3 separate regions of the Homo sapiens genome follow, and all the other regions are linked to region 2. The links are contacts of gene promoters, found by promoter capture Hi-C in blood cells and fetal thymus (Javierre and others, 2016). All regions are on one chromosome and are shown on one strand. Each heading gives the region's core, a stretch centred on a gene start or on the middle of the fragment in contact. The rest is flanking DNA. Distances are from core to core; before and after follow the strand shown.

Evidence for each region. The method cuts DNA at HindIII sites, captures the fragments that hold promoters and counts their contacts. A CHiCAGO score of 5 or more calls a contact.
Region 1: a fragment that was not itself captured here is called in contact with the fragment with the promoter of WAPL in region 2 in 1 of 17 cell types (total CD4 T cells); the score reaches 5.2 in total CD4 T cells.
Region 3: a contact is called between a fragment that was not itself captured here and the fragment with the promoter of WAPL in region 2, in 1 of 17 cell types (naive CD8 T cells). The highest score is 7.7, in naive CD8 T cells.

What each region holds. Positions count from the first base shown.
Region 1 is chr10:84,417,483-84,421,310 of GRCh38, forward strand. It overlaps CCSER2 (coiled-coil serine rich protein 2), which reads left to right. Exons shown (of 10, transcript NM_001284240.2): 4 at 289-379. Among named protein-coding and RNA genes, the nearest start is that of CCSER2, 91 kb to the left of the region's middle. The HindIII fragment of the contact is 478 bases long and covers 1,244-1,721 here.
Region 2 is chr10:86,520,410-86,524,379 of GRCh38, forward strand. WAPL (WAPL cohesin release factor) reads right to left here and starts at 1,383. Exons shown (of 19, transcript NM_015045.5): 1 at 956-1,383. WAPL-DT (WAPL divergent transcript) reads left to right here and starts at 1,538. Exons shown (of 2, transcript NR_186498.1): 1 at 1,538-2,000; 2 at 2,100-3,970. RefSeq lists silencers at 877-1,296, 1,437-1,996. The HindIII fragment of the contact is 16,574 bases long and covers 1-3,824 here.
Region 3 is chr10:84,466,480-84,470,584 of GRCh38, forward strand. It overlaps CCSER2 (coiled-coil serine rich protein 2), which reads left to right. Exons shown (of 10, transcript NM_001284240.2): 8 at 3,893-3,979. Among named protein-coding and RNA genes, the nearest start is that of CCSER2, 140 kb to the left of the region's middle. The HindIII fragment of the contact is 4,261 bases long and covers 698-4,105 here.

The DNA of each region.
Region 1 (3,828 bases), core at 233-2,732, 2.1 Mb before region 2:
TTACCAGGGAAGATGTTAAAAACATGGACTTAAAAGTTTTTTAATATGAAAATAAAAATCTATTGGGGAGGAAAGACTAGGAGGAAGACTAGGAGAAGGATGTTAGAAATAGCTTAATTAAACTAGTTGAATCTATTTTTATTTTTAAAAAACTTGAAAACCTATTTTATTCTTTCAGTGCAGATAATGAGTGAATTCAGGATATCATATAGTTCGATTTTAAAAAATAATGGTTGACATATCCTTAGAGCTAGATTATGGTATATTTTTTACTGCTTTTGTTCACAGGATATTTTGAATAATCTTGAATCATGTGACCTTGAGGATGATGATCTTATGCTTGATGTGGATCTGCCTGAGGATGCACCTCTTGAAAATGGTAAGTTGAGACAATATTGAACCTTCAGAGGTATATACTTGAGCTACTCGACTGTAGCCAATTTGATATTTGTTACTTGCAGACTTCTTAATCTTAATGGAGCCTTTCAGACTGAGAATCAGTCTTAAGTGAGGTAAAATAGGTTCATTTGCAAACTAACTTAAATATTTAAAACCTGATTTTGTAAGTCTTAGATATAATTCTCTATCATCCAATAACATTGTATACCATAAAGTAAGTTGCAGATAAGAGTTGTCTTTTTTTCTGTGTATGTACCCAGTTTTTCCTCCCTTTATCTCATTTTGATTTTAGGAAGAAATGTATTTACAGAAACATACCATCTTACTTGTGAAACACTATAATATCTTAATTTGATAAATATTTTATAGAGATTAATTCTGGGAATGTGATGACCTTCTGAATGGATCATTCTGTACATTTTACTCCCAATTCTAGTCTATCTTTCTCTCTAGAGCCAAGTAACTGCTGGGGTGAGGCTTTAGGTAATCCATATGGGAGAGGGGCCTTAGGTTCTTTTCACTCCAGTGACATAGCACTTGTAGGATTTTTTTTATCTTAAAGACTGTTGGAGAACCAGAAACCAGCATAAAAAAGCCCTGGAGGCAAAGGTTGAAATGGGGATACTCCTGGGGAGAGGGCTGCCCTTAGAAATCTGAGAATTTCCTGTCAATCAACATTTGCCTGGTCTCACAGGCCTCCATGGGCTGGAAATAAAGTGAAAATGGTGAGTGGGATCCTTTTATCCATGGTGCTAGAAAAATGCAAGGAATATTTCAGAGAGGGGAGGTGTCTGTTCCAGTGCTTCACTGGGGTGTTAGTAGCCTGCTTTGCTGCTTTACTACAAGCTTATATTTGTCATACTGGTGAGGCTTTTATTTTTCCTGCCAGAATGCTGTATGGCATTCTCAAAATCTCAGTTGCTTTCAAAATAAACGTGTATTTTTCTCATTCATGGATCTAAGGATTAGCTGGGAAGCTCAGGCTATGGGACTAGCTTGAGGTCTGTTCCATGTTTCTTCATTTTGAGACCAGGACCACTGTGGGGCAGGTTGTTCTCACGACAGCAGAAATGCAACAGGATGAGCAGAAACATGCATATTATGTCTCTTAAAGTCTTAGCTAAGAACTAGCACATTTTTTTTTTAGAATAACAAAAAATATTTTACTAAAACGTAAGATTTACAGAAGTTTCCAGATAAGCCATACGAAATGGTCACAAGATTTTTTGAAGAGGGGAATCTACACTTGACAGCAAAGTCACAATGTTGTTAGTGAGGGCTGTGATATTTGTTTAATGTTCCCATTTTAGTTCAAACAGTCAAGCTTGTCCATCTACATTGTCTAAATAAAGTTAGATTTGGTTAGAGAGCGTATTCTAAAGAACTGCTTAGCTGCTTTTAACCAATGCAGTTAGATCACCAAAAAACGGGAGAAAGGAGCCCATAAAATTAAAATAAAACCAGCTCCCTTCTCAAAAAAAAAAAAATAAAATAAAGAAAAACACCCACACCCCTGGAGCTAACCTGACAACTATCTTCATTCACAGAGGACACTTATTTCTAAGCACATTCTTTTGGCCAAAGCAGGTAACATGGCCAAACCTAACACCTTTGAGACTGGGAAGTGTACTCTTCATAATGAAGGCTCTGCACATGATAGAGGACATTGCATGTATAATTCTGTAAGGAGAGAATGAAAAGTTGAGGACAATATCCACCACTGTCTCACAGAGACAGAGAATGTTACACCTTTTTGTGGTTCTGCTGTCGCTTAGTATGCTCTGGCAAACAGCTGAGTTCTAGTGCTGAAAAAGAAAAAAATCACAGGCAACACTGAGGAAGAACAAGGAAAATGACAGAACCCTGAGGATTAGAGTAGTCAAAGGAGATAATCACTTAGATTGAATTGCAGCACAATTCTTTCTGGAGTTAAAAGACAAGACTTCCCAACAGAACAGTTTATTCAGTAAATGACAGAAAGCATCACTGCTATTGAATCTGAATTAGTGACTTGAAAGATCAAGTAGAAAAATATTGTAGAACACAGAGGAAAAACATAAACCATTGGAAAGTTATAGGGGAAGAATAATGAGACTTGATGATCTGGGAAATTTAATGGTAATTTTTAGGGCTGGTAGTGAGGAGTGAGGGATTTACTTCCTCGGAATAAATCACATGCTAGGTAATGCATTTTACTTTGACAGAATTGTAACAACTTCTCTTGGAAACTTTATGCCCTTTCTGAGTGGAAGTAGAAAGAAAGGATCTTAGAGCCTGCCTTATCTTTAGCAGACAACAGAAAGTTACCCAAATATTAGATAAAAGTAGAATCACAGGGAAATTTAGTCTTTGAGGTCTTGATTGGGGACTTGTGAAAAGTAGGAGGGAACTCTTGGGAACATCCCACATAAACAGTACTTTAGATTTTTCTAGAAGAAGGCAAACAACTATTGGCTATTTTGAGTAAAGGAACATTAAAGAAAGCATGTAAGAACATGGATCTAAAATATGTAGCCTCCTGAGGCACCAAAGATAAAATAGTATCTAGGTTTGGTACTATAGGAAAGTGGGAAATTTTTCTTTTTATGGCTCTTAAGTCCCGAACAATTATACACACCCATTACAGTTTTTTGGCTGGGAGGATGAGAATGTTACAGGGACTGATAGAGATTTAGGGAGTCTAATAATGTGCTTTCCACTACAGGTTTTAGTCCTTTATAGCTTCTGGTTGTTGATGATATTATGCAGGTTTGATAAAGATTTAGATGGGGGCCAGGCATGGTGGCTCATGCCTGTAATCCCAGCGCTTTGGGAGGCCAAGGTGGGCAGAACACAAGGTCAGGAGATTGAGACCATCCTGGCTAACATGGTGAAACCCTGTCTCTACTAAAAACACAAAAAATTAGCCGGGCGTGGAGGCACGTGCCTGTAGTCTCAGTTACTTGGGAGACTGAGGCAGGAGAATCGCTTAAACCCGGGAGGCAGAGATTGCAATGAGCCGAGATCACGCTACTGCACTCCAGCCTGGGCGACAGAGCGAGACTCCATCTCAAAAAAAAAAAAAAAAAGGTTTAGATTGGTCACTATGAACTATAATGAATTGCCACTAATTCTCCCAGTATCAGTGGAGTTTTGGCCCACAGAAGAGTGGCACCTCACTGAAATCTTTAATTTGGATACAAGTTTGCTGTGACCTCATTATGAATGACAATTGTCAGATTATCATTTCATGGAAGAAGCCATGAGGAGAGTATTTTTCTGGTGAATGCATTTGTGCAGTTAATCTTTCCCTATTAAATGTGGCATATGTAGTAGCAAAAATAAGGAGAGAATGTTGGTCAAATGTTTTCTGGACTTTCGTGAGTTAGGATTTGGAGACTGTTATTGGAGGAAAGTTTTTGGAGATTGTATTAATCCATTCTCACGCTG
Region 2 (3,970 bases), core at 133-2,632:
AGAAGTGTATAGATGAAATAAATTTGTTTAATAGTCACTGCTAAATCCAAGCGATGGGTACAGAGAAGTTCATTATATAATATCTCCTCCTGATTGCCTTTATCGTTTCCCACAATAAAATGTCTTTGCAATGGCATTATCTAAGCGTAAAGCACTACAGATTCCAAAATAAGTGTGCAGACGTCCTTGAAGTTAAATTTTAAGTGTTTCAAGTACACAATCTTGCTCAACCTTTAAACTCCAAAGACTGTCCTAACTAAAAAGGAAAGAATGATTGACGACTAAGTCTTTTCGGTCGTTCGGCTTTTGCCCTAGCCCAAAATCAGGTCGAATTTTGAGAGAAGTGCGCTGTGATTTAAAAAAAAAAAAAAAAAAAAAAAAGCAAAAAGCCTTTATACTTCACTCCCACCCTAATCTAGCGTCTTCCCGATCCCCAAAGGCTTTAAGGGCTTCCATTAAAGATGGAAAGCGGACGGGACGAACCTGACTAACCAGAAATCCTCACCTGGGGACAGCCGGGGCGCCACGGGCAGTGGGCGCGATGGACCCCTCGGACTAGACACTCAATGCAACTTTTCTCCTCCCAACCCGCGCCGCCCAGGAAAGGGAGGTCACTTTCGACGCCCCGGAAGCCTCTGCCACCGAATCCTTAAGGCAGTGCAAGGCCCCAGTGGCGGCCAGAGGCGGATGAAACCACGGGAAAGGACTCGGGGCTGAAATCAACACACTTGACTGGGTTTGGGGAGCTAAGTCAATCAGCAGTCGCCCGAAAAAGAACTCCGAAAAAGGAAAATAAAAGGGGAAAAAAAGAGTTCCTCAGGTCATTCCCCTGCCCAACTTCCTCAGCGGCCCGGTGGGCGAGGCAGTGAGACTTCCACCGCCCGCTCCCAGCCTCTGCCTCCCCCACCCTCCCGGCTCCCTCCCGGCCTAGGCGGCCGCCCGACACCTCACTTACCCTCGGAGCCTGGCGGGTGCTTTGGCCACGGGCCGCCTCCGCCTCTCCCGCTCCCTACGGCCCGCGGGCGGGCGCGGAACCCTCGCGCGGGAGAGCAGGGCCGGCAGGTGAGAGCCGAGAGAGGCGAGGGACTCTGCTTTCGGTAAATAGGAAGCCCGGTTGGGGGGGCAGGAGCGGCGGCCCCGCAACTTCCCTCCCCGCCTCGAGCGCCGCCGGCCGGGCCCAGGCCTAGCTCTCGCTGGCCGCCACTGCTGGAGCTGGTAACAGAGCCTGCTGTGTGCCCCCGCTGGGCCGCCGCCGCCTCCTGCGCCGCCGCTTCCGCCGGTGAATGGTCAGTGCTGGAGTTTGAACAGGGCCCTGAACCATCTCAACGCCATTTGCGCTCCCGGCCCCCACCTCCTTCCTCCAACAGCCGCTCGCTCCGTCACTCCGCTTCCCACAGTCCCCGCGCGGCCGCCCGACCCCGCAGCCAATCGCGCAGCCGCTTACTCAAACCGCCGCGCAGGCGCTGCGCCCCGCATGCTCCGGCGCCCGCCATTGGCCCGGCCGCGGAGCCCGACGGGAGTTGTAGTCCAGGTCCGCGAGGTCGCGGGCCGAGGACCAGGCGCGGGAGCGGGAGCGGGCGACTGGCCGGGCCCTCCCGGTCTCGGCAGCCACTTCTAGCTCCCGGCCCAGCCGGGAGACGCAGGTGCCACGGAGATGGGCAGCCGGGCGGGTGGCGCAGTGCAGGCAGCTGTATCAATCGCTTCCCCTCCAGGGACCCGCCGGTGCCTGGGGACCGCGGGCTGTGCAGCTGTGCCGGGCCTGCGGAGGCCGCCGCCCGGGAGCTGGGAGGCAGGGGGCGCGTGGTCAAGAGCCGCCCTCGACCTGGCCTGGTCGGTCCTGGCCCGGCGTAGGTGACGATGGCGGGGACCGCGAGGCGCCGGACACCCGAGGCCACGAGCAGCGTCGCCCCTCGCTTTTTCGCGCCCCTCCAGCCCTGCAGTCCTTCCTCTAAGTCCGTCTGCCCCTCACCGATTGAAAGTGGCCCCGAGAATATTGGATGGTATTGAGCAATTATCATTAACTTTGTTGGGTGTGGTAACGGTAATGTGGTTATGGTTTTTTGTTTTTTTTTTTTTAAGACCTACTGATGTGTTGACAGAGTGATCTGGTGTCAGGACTGTAAAATACGCCTATGAAAACTGGGGGAGAGGAATAAAACAAGCTGGCAGAACGTTTTTCATCGTTGAAGCTGCGTGATGCGAGCATATGTGCTCATCATACAGTCTCTTTACTTGTGTATCTGAAATTTTCCATAATAAAAAGTTTAAAGAAGTGAACCAGCGATTGCCTCTAGGGAGGACAGTGAGGTGGCGGATGACGGGAGGAAGGAGTCTTAATTTTTCGCTGTACGCCTTTTTGTGCTATCTTAGGTTTTTCCCATTCAATGTGTTACCTAATTCAGAAAATTGGTAAGTTTTTTTTAAGGCTACCATGGGAAAACAGCGTTCTAAAGAGTAGCGCAACCAGTTCCCCCTAAGAGAGGTGCATGATTCGTCGGACTCCGACAGCCTTGGTGTTTGTTAGGCGGTTAATGGAGACCCACCTGGGAAATTAGAAAACTACTAATTGCTTTCAGTGAGAAGCCCGCCCTTCTCCCACAAATGGATAATTTGCTTTTAATGCACCCAGAAGTTATCCAGCTCCCTCCGGTATAATCGGGGAAACTCCAAATAAAGGAAAAATAGTTCAGAGACCCTGCAGCTCTTCCCAAGAGGAATTTAAGGTGGATTTTAGTGTGGTTGGATTGTTTTGCCTACCTGACTGCAGAATTTATATTCTGACATTTACAATTTCCTAAATACTGAATCAGTACTTTTTCTTGTTTCAAAATAAATCAACTTCTTCTGTAGTTTATATGAAAAACAAGTCCATGTCTTCCACTGTGGGTGGGATGCACATGACTGTTTTATTTGGGTCAGTTTTGTCTCTTTTTTTAATTGGCAGTTTAGGAACTTGTTTTTATCATTTTGTTTAAAGATCTTCTGGCAGAGGTGCAGGCTGCACTTACTATAATTATTTAGATGACAAGGTGGTGGGTGGTAATTAAAGGGTAATTATCATCAGAGGCAAAAGGTAAGATCAAAAAACCAGAAGAGGTGAGGAAACAATTGCAAGATCTTCCTGTAGGAGGGTGTCGTGATCCTCCCAAGACCAAAGGATATGTCTATTATGCCTGGCCTCTCTAGTGCTGGACACTTGGCAGGGTCAGTGCCTGCATGAGGCTGAAGTGGAAGGGCTTATTGTTTAGACTGGTGCCTTTTGAGGGCTTTTATGTGATGGTTGTGTTAAGTAATGAAACTTAGTAGTGTCAAATTCTTGCCACTCAAAGAATGATCCCCAATCAGCAGTGTAGCATCACCTGGAAGCCTGTAAGGAACGCATAATTCCTATCCCTCACCCCAGCTCCACTGAATCAGAACCTGCATTTTAACAGGATTCCCCCAGCTGATTGGGCTGCACATTAAAGTTTGACAAGCACTGATTTAAAGTATACCCATAGCATTTGACAGCAATCTAGTATTTTTCGTTAGGATGAGGGAGAGGAAGGGAGATGATTAAGAACCTCCTATGCATCAGGTAAGATGCTAGGCTGTTCAGGGGCCTTGTCTGCTTCCCAGTCCATTACTCTATCTTACAAGTAAGGAAATGGGAAGACTTGTATGTTACAACTAATGAGGGAGTCAAACTTTTTCTTGACGGTTGGATACCCTTTAGTACTTCTTGGTGTTCTTGAATCTGGTAGAAAGTGGTACATGATTTGAGAAGTAAAGTGTGTGTGAGTGTGTGTGTGTGTGTGTGTGTGTGTGTGTATTTAGTCTGTGGAAGCTTAGTATATGAATATTAAGCAGAGCTCTTCTGGGCTCTGTACCCTTGTGTGGCTCACACTAAAGACACCCCTCGGGCCCCTCCTGGAGGGAGTTCAGACTCCTGGCCCTGCAGGCTGTACCACCACCTTAACCCCTTACCTCC
Region 3 (4,105 bases), core at 1,578-4,077, 2.1 Mb before region 2:
TTCTTGCTTTCTTTTTTTTGTTTTTTTGGTTTTTTTTTTTTTTGAGACAAAGTCTCGCTCTGTTGCCCAGGCTGGAGTGCAGTGGCACAATCTCGGCTCGCTGCAAGCTCCACTTCCTGGGTTCATGCCATTCTCCTGCCTCAGCCTCCCGAGTGGCTGGGACTACAGGCGCCCGCCGCCACGCCTGGCTAATTTTTTTTTTTTTTTGTATTTTTAGTAGGGACGGGGTTTCACCGTGTTAGCCAGGATTTTCTTGATCTCCTGACCTCGTGATCCGTCCGCCTCGGCCTCCCAAAGTGCTGGGATTACAGGCGTAAGCCACCGCGCCCGGCCTCCTTCTTGCCTTCTAATTTATCTATATTTGTCTCATTCTTACTCCTTTGTTCCAGTTACAGGGGAAAAGTGTCCACTGTGCTATGGAAGATCAGCTCTTCTGTGTTCTTAACTCTTGTCTTCTGCTGTTGCTTAAGGACCTAACTGCATCTCTTCCTCCTCTCTCATCTGTCTTGAGTGCGCCTCCTCTACTTTCTTGTCATTATTTGTTTGTAAATGTGTATATCTCATTTAATTTCAGTAAATCAAATACACTTTTTCTTGACTCCTTTTAAACTCCTTTCCAGTTAGTGTGAAAACTTGGAACAATGAAAATAGCTACCATTTCAATGCTGTAGACGTTTGACATGACCTTTGTTTTAAAAGCTTTCTCCTTTGGCTTTTGTGTCACTTCTCTCTGGAATCCCTCATACCTTTCAACATTTTTTCCTGTAGGTTTCTCCTCTTCTTTAAATGTTAGATTTATATCTTTAGTCCAGTCCTCTTTGAACATCTTACTCTCATAATTTCAAATATGACATATATGGCTAACATGTAAAACTCCTTTCTTTCATGCTTGGTAATCCAGTTGCCCACTGGACACACTTCTATTGTATGTCCCACCCATAAGTACTTCTAACACAGACTCTCTCTCTCTCACCCCCCACATATGTGTGTGTATGTGTGTGTGTGTGTGTATTTGTATGTGAGATGTCTTAAACATTTTATTTATTTAATGAAAAAACTGATAACTGTTGAGCTCAGAAACCAATACCCCAACATACAGTACTTTGACATACTGAACTGAAGAAACCTCAAGATCTCTTCTGGCTCCATCATGTCCCCACCTCCCCCCTACTGCCCACCCACCTGTGTAACAATATATTTAAAATTCACACATATTCCTCTTTGGACATACTTGTTGTTCTTCTGTATTCACCATTTCTTTTGTTGGCGCAGCTATTCACCATGTCACTCAAGCTAGAAATACAGTGTCACCCTTGAATGCTCCTCTGTTCTTTTCTCACATGCAGTGAATTGCCAAAAATCTCAAAATTTTGATTTCTTCTCTCCCTTTTCATCTATATTATCACTCTCTTGGGTCAGGCTCCTACTCTTATCTAGATTATTATAATATTTTCATAAGTGCCTAGCTCAGTTTTCTTGCTGTTGTTAAAATTTGTCCTCTAAACACCTGTCAAAGCCATCTCAAATGCAAATCTGTCACTCCCTAGCTAAGGCCATGCGTGATAGTCATGGCTCTCTGTGATCTGGCCCTTGCATAGTTTACTAGCCAATTGCTTCTCAACATTAATCAGAACCTATGTGCAACAGCGACACTGCTTATACTTCTCCAGACGTGCTATGCTTTCCCTCACCTTTGTATTATATTGTATGGCACTTAGAATCCTTTAACTAAAATTCCAAGCCTACCACACTCCTCTATCTTCTGAATCTTGTGCTTATCCTTTGGAACTCCACTGTAGTCCCTCATTTCTGATGTGTGATGTCACTTCTTTGCCTATCTTTATATATAAAATCAGTGTTCCCAATGCAAAGAGATGATAAATGTTTGAGATGATGGAAATGCTAATTGCCCTGATCTAATCACTATAAATTATATGTGTCAAAACATTACTGTGTAAACCATGAATATGTACAATGTTATCTGTCAATTAAAAGTAAAATTAAAACAATGAAATGGTTTTGGTGGGGGAAAAAAATCCTTAGAGCAGTGCCTGCCATACAGCAAGTGCTATATACATGCTGGCTATTAATGTTCTTAGCACATTATTTGTTGATTTCATTTTTGGGTCCATTTCCTGTGTAACACAGTCCGAACCTACTGGTGACTGCATGAATGATGGCTATATAGTGTTCCATGAAGTTGCTACATTTTATTCCCGTTGTCCTCTTACAGGACAATTGTAAACTTGTTAACTTTCAGATAACACCTTGTTATAGGTTTTCTCTTTCTAAGGATCATTTCTTTCATATAGATTCCTAGGAGTAGGATAACTGAATCAGAGTGCAGGTATTTTGATGGCTCTTAAACATACAGATGTATATTTGTCCAAAAAGGTTAACTGCTATGTCTGATGGTGTGCCATTTTTTCCTGCAGTCTGGTTAATTACATTGGGTATTTCACCACTAACTTAATATTTATAAAACAATACTTTATTCAACAAGTTAAATACAACATTTTACCAGTTATATGTATATTTGTGAGAACTGGCTACTTGTCTGTTGAGGCCTTAAAAATGATCTTAAATGTTTAGACAGGCTGTTAATATACTTGAGATATAAATCCTCTGTCATATTTGCATGGATTATCAATAGCTTTTAACTAATGTTAATTGTTAAGGTGCCTTAAAATGTTATATAATTAAATATAAATCATTTCTTTTGAATAGCTATATTTGCTACATAACTTAGAAATGTGTCCTTCTAAATGTATTCTTAGAAATGTATCTTTCATGATCTGCAATCCATCTTTTTTGTCTTTATGAATTTTTATAATTCCTAAACTTAAAAACAAGTGGAGATTATCTTTTGTATGTAATAAAGTCTTTTTCAATTATAGTGTACATAATAGCATTTTAAAAATCTTCCACATTGTTTGGGATGCTTATGTGATATGTTCAAGGCTTTGTAAAATGTCTATTTCTGATCTCTTTGTTAAAGAGAATATATGTTTTTGTTCCCGATGTAGCTAAAGGGGATGACATTCTTTGCTTAGTTACAACACATCCTAATTATTTGCTTACTTGTTTTTCTCTCTGGAAAGATGTTATTCACATCTATATTTGAATTTCCTTGCTTATATTACCTTCTCTTTTGGATAACTGAATAATGAAACACAAACAACATGGGCTAACTATAGGGTAATGATTAACACTTTGGAAATGTAACTGGATTCCTGCTTAACTTGACAGTAGGTTTCCATTTAATAGTACTAGGCATTTCTTATAGATCCAATTGAGAAGGTGTTCTCTCTTTGATTCAGGAGGTACTCCTCAAAAAGTGGCTCATGGTCAAAGAATCTTCCTTGTTACCCTTCAGGCACATTTATCTTTTTTGCTGATTTGTAAACCAGCCATGAAATGCCTCTGTGCCTTTAATTATTCTATTGCCTCTGCTTCTCATGCCCTTTGTTTTCTTTCACAGGCTACTCTTATGTATCCCTTGAAGTCTAGCTGAAGTTGCTTTTTTGTATGTGATTTTTTTTTTTTTTTTTTTTTTTTACTCTGTGGCCTATGTCCCAGTTTTCTTATATGTAAAAAAGGATTACAGTACCTACCTCAGGAGTGTGGGTAGAATCAAATGCTTAAATAAGTGCAAGTGCTTAGTTTTTAACATCTAATAAGTTCTCAATGAATGCTAACTGTTGCTGCTACTATTGCTCATTGTCAACATGTCACACTTCATTACCGGATGAAATCTTAGATTTTTTTTTAATAGAGGATTTCCCCCCTAAATGACCAGATAGTTTGTTCATTACTGTGTCTTCATCATTGATTTCATGCCTCTCATTATGGTATTTTAAATACCTCATCTAAAGATTTTTTAATATTTCAGAATGAAGATTTATTAAATGAAATAAAACAACTTAAAGACGAAATAAAGAAAAAAGATGAAAAGATCCAACTATTAGAACTTCAGCTTGTAAGTATTGTAGTATAATGTATAGAGACTTTTCAAACTGGGTGAAATGTGTTTTTCATAAAACTCTGAGCCAGAAGTAGAGTTTAGCTTTATTTTTGGCTCTCAAAGTTGCACTTTTATATTATT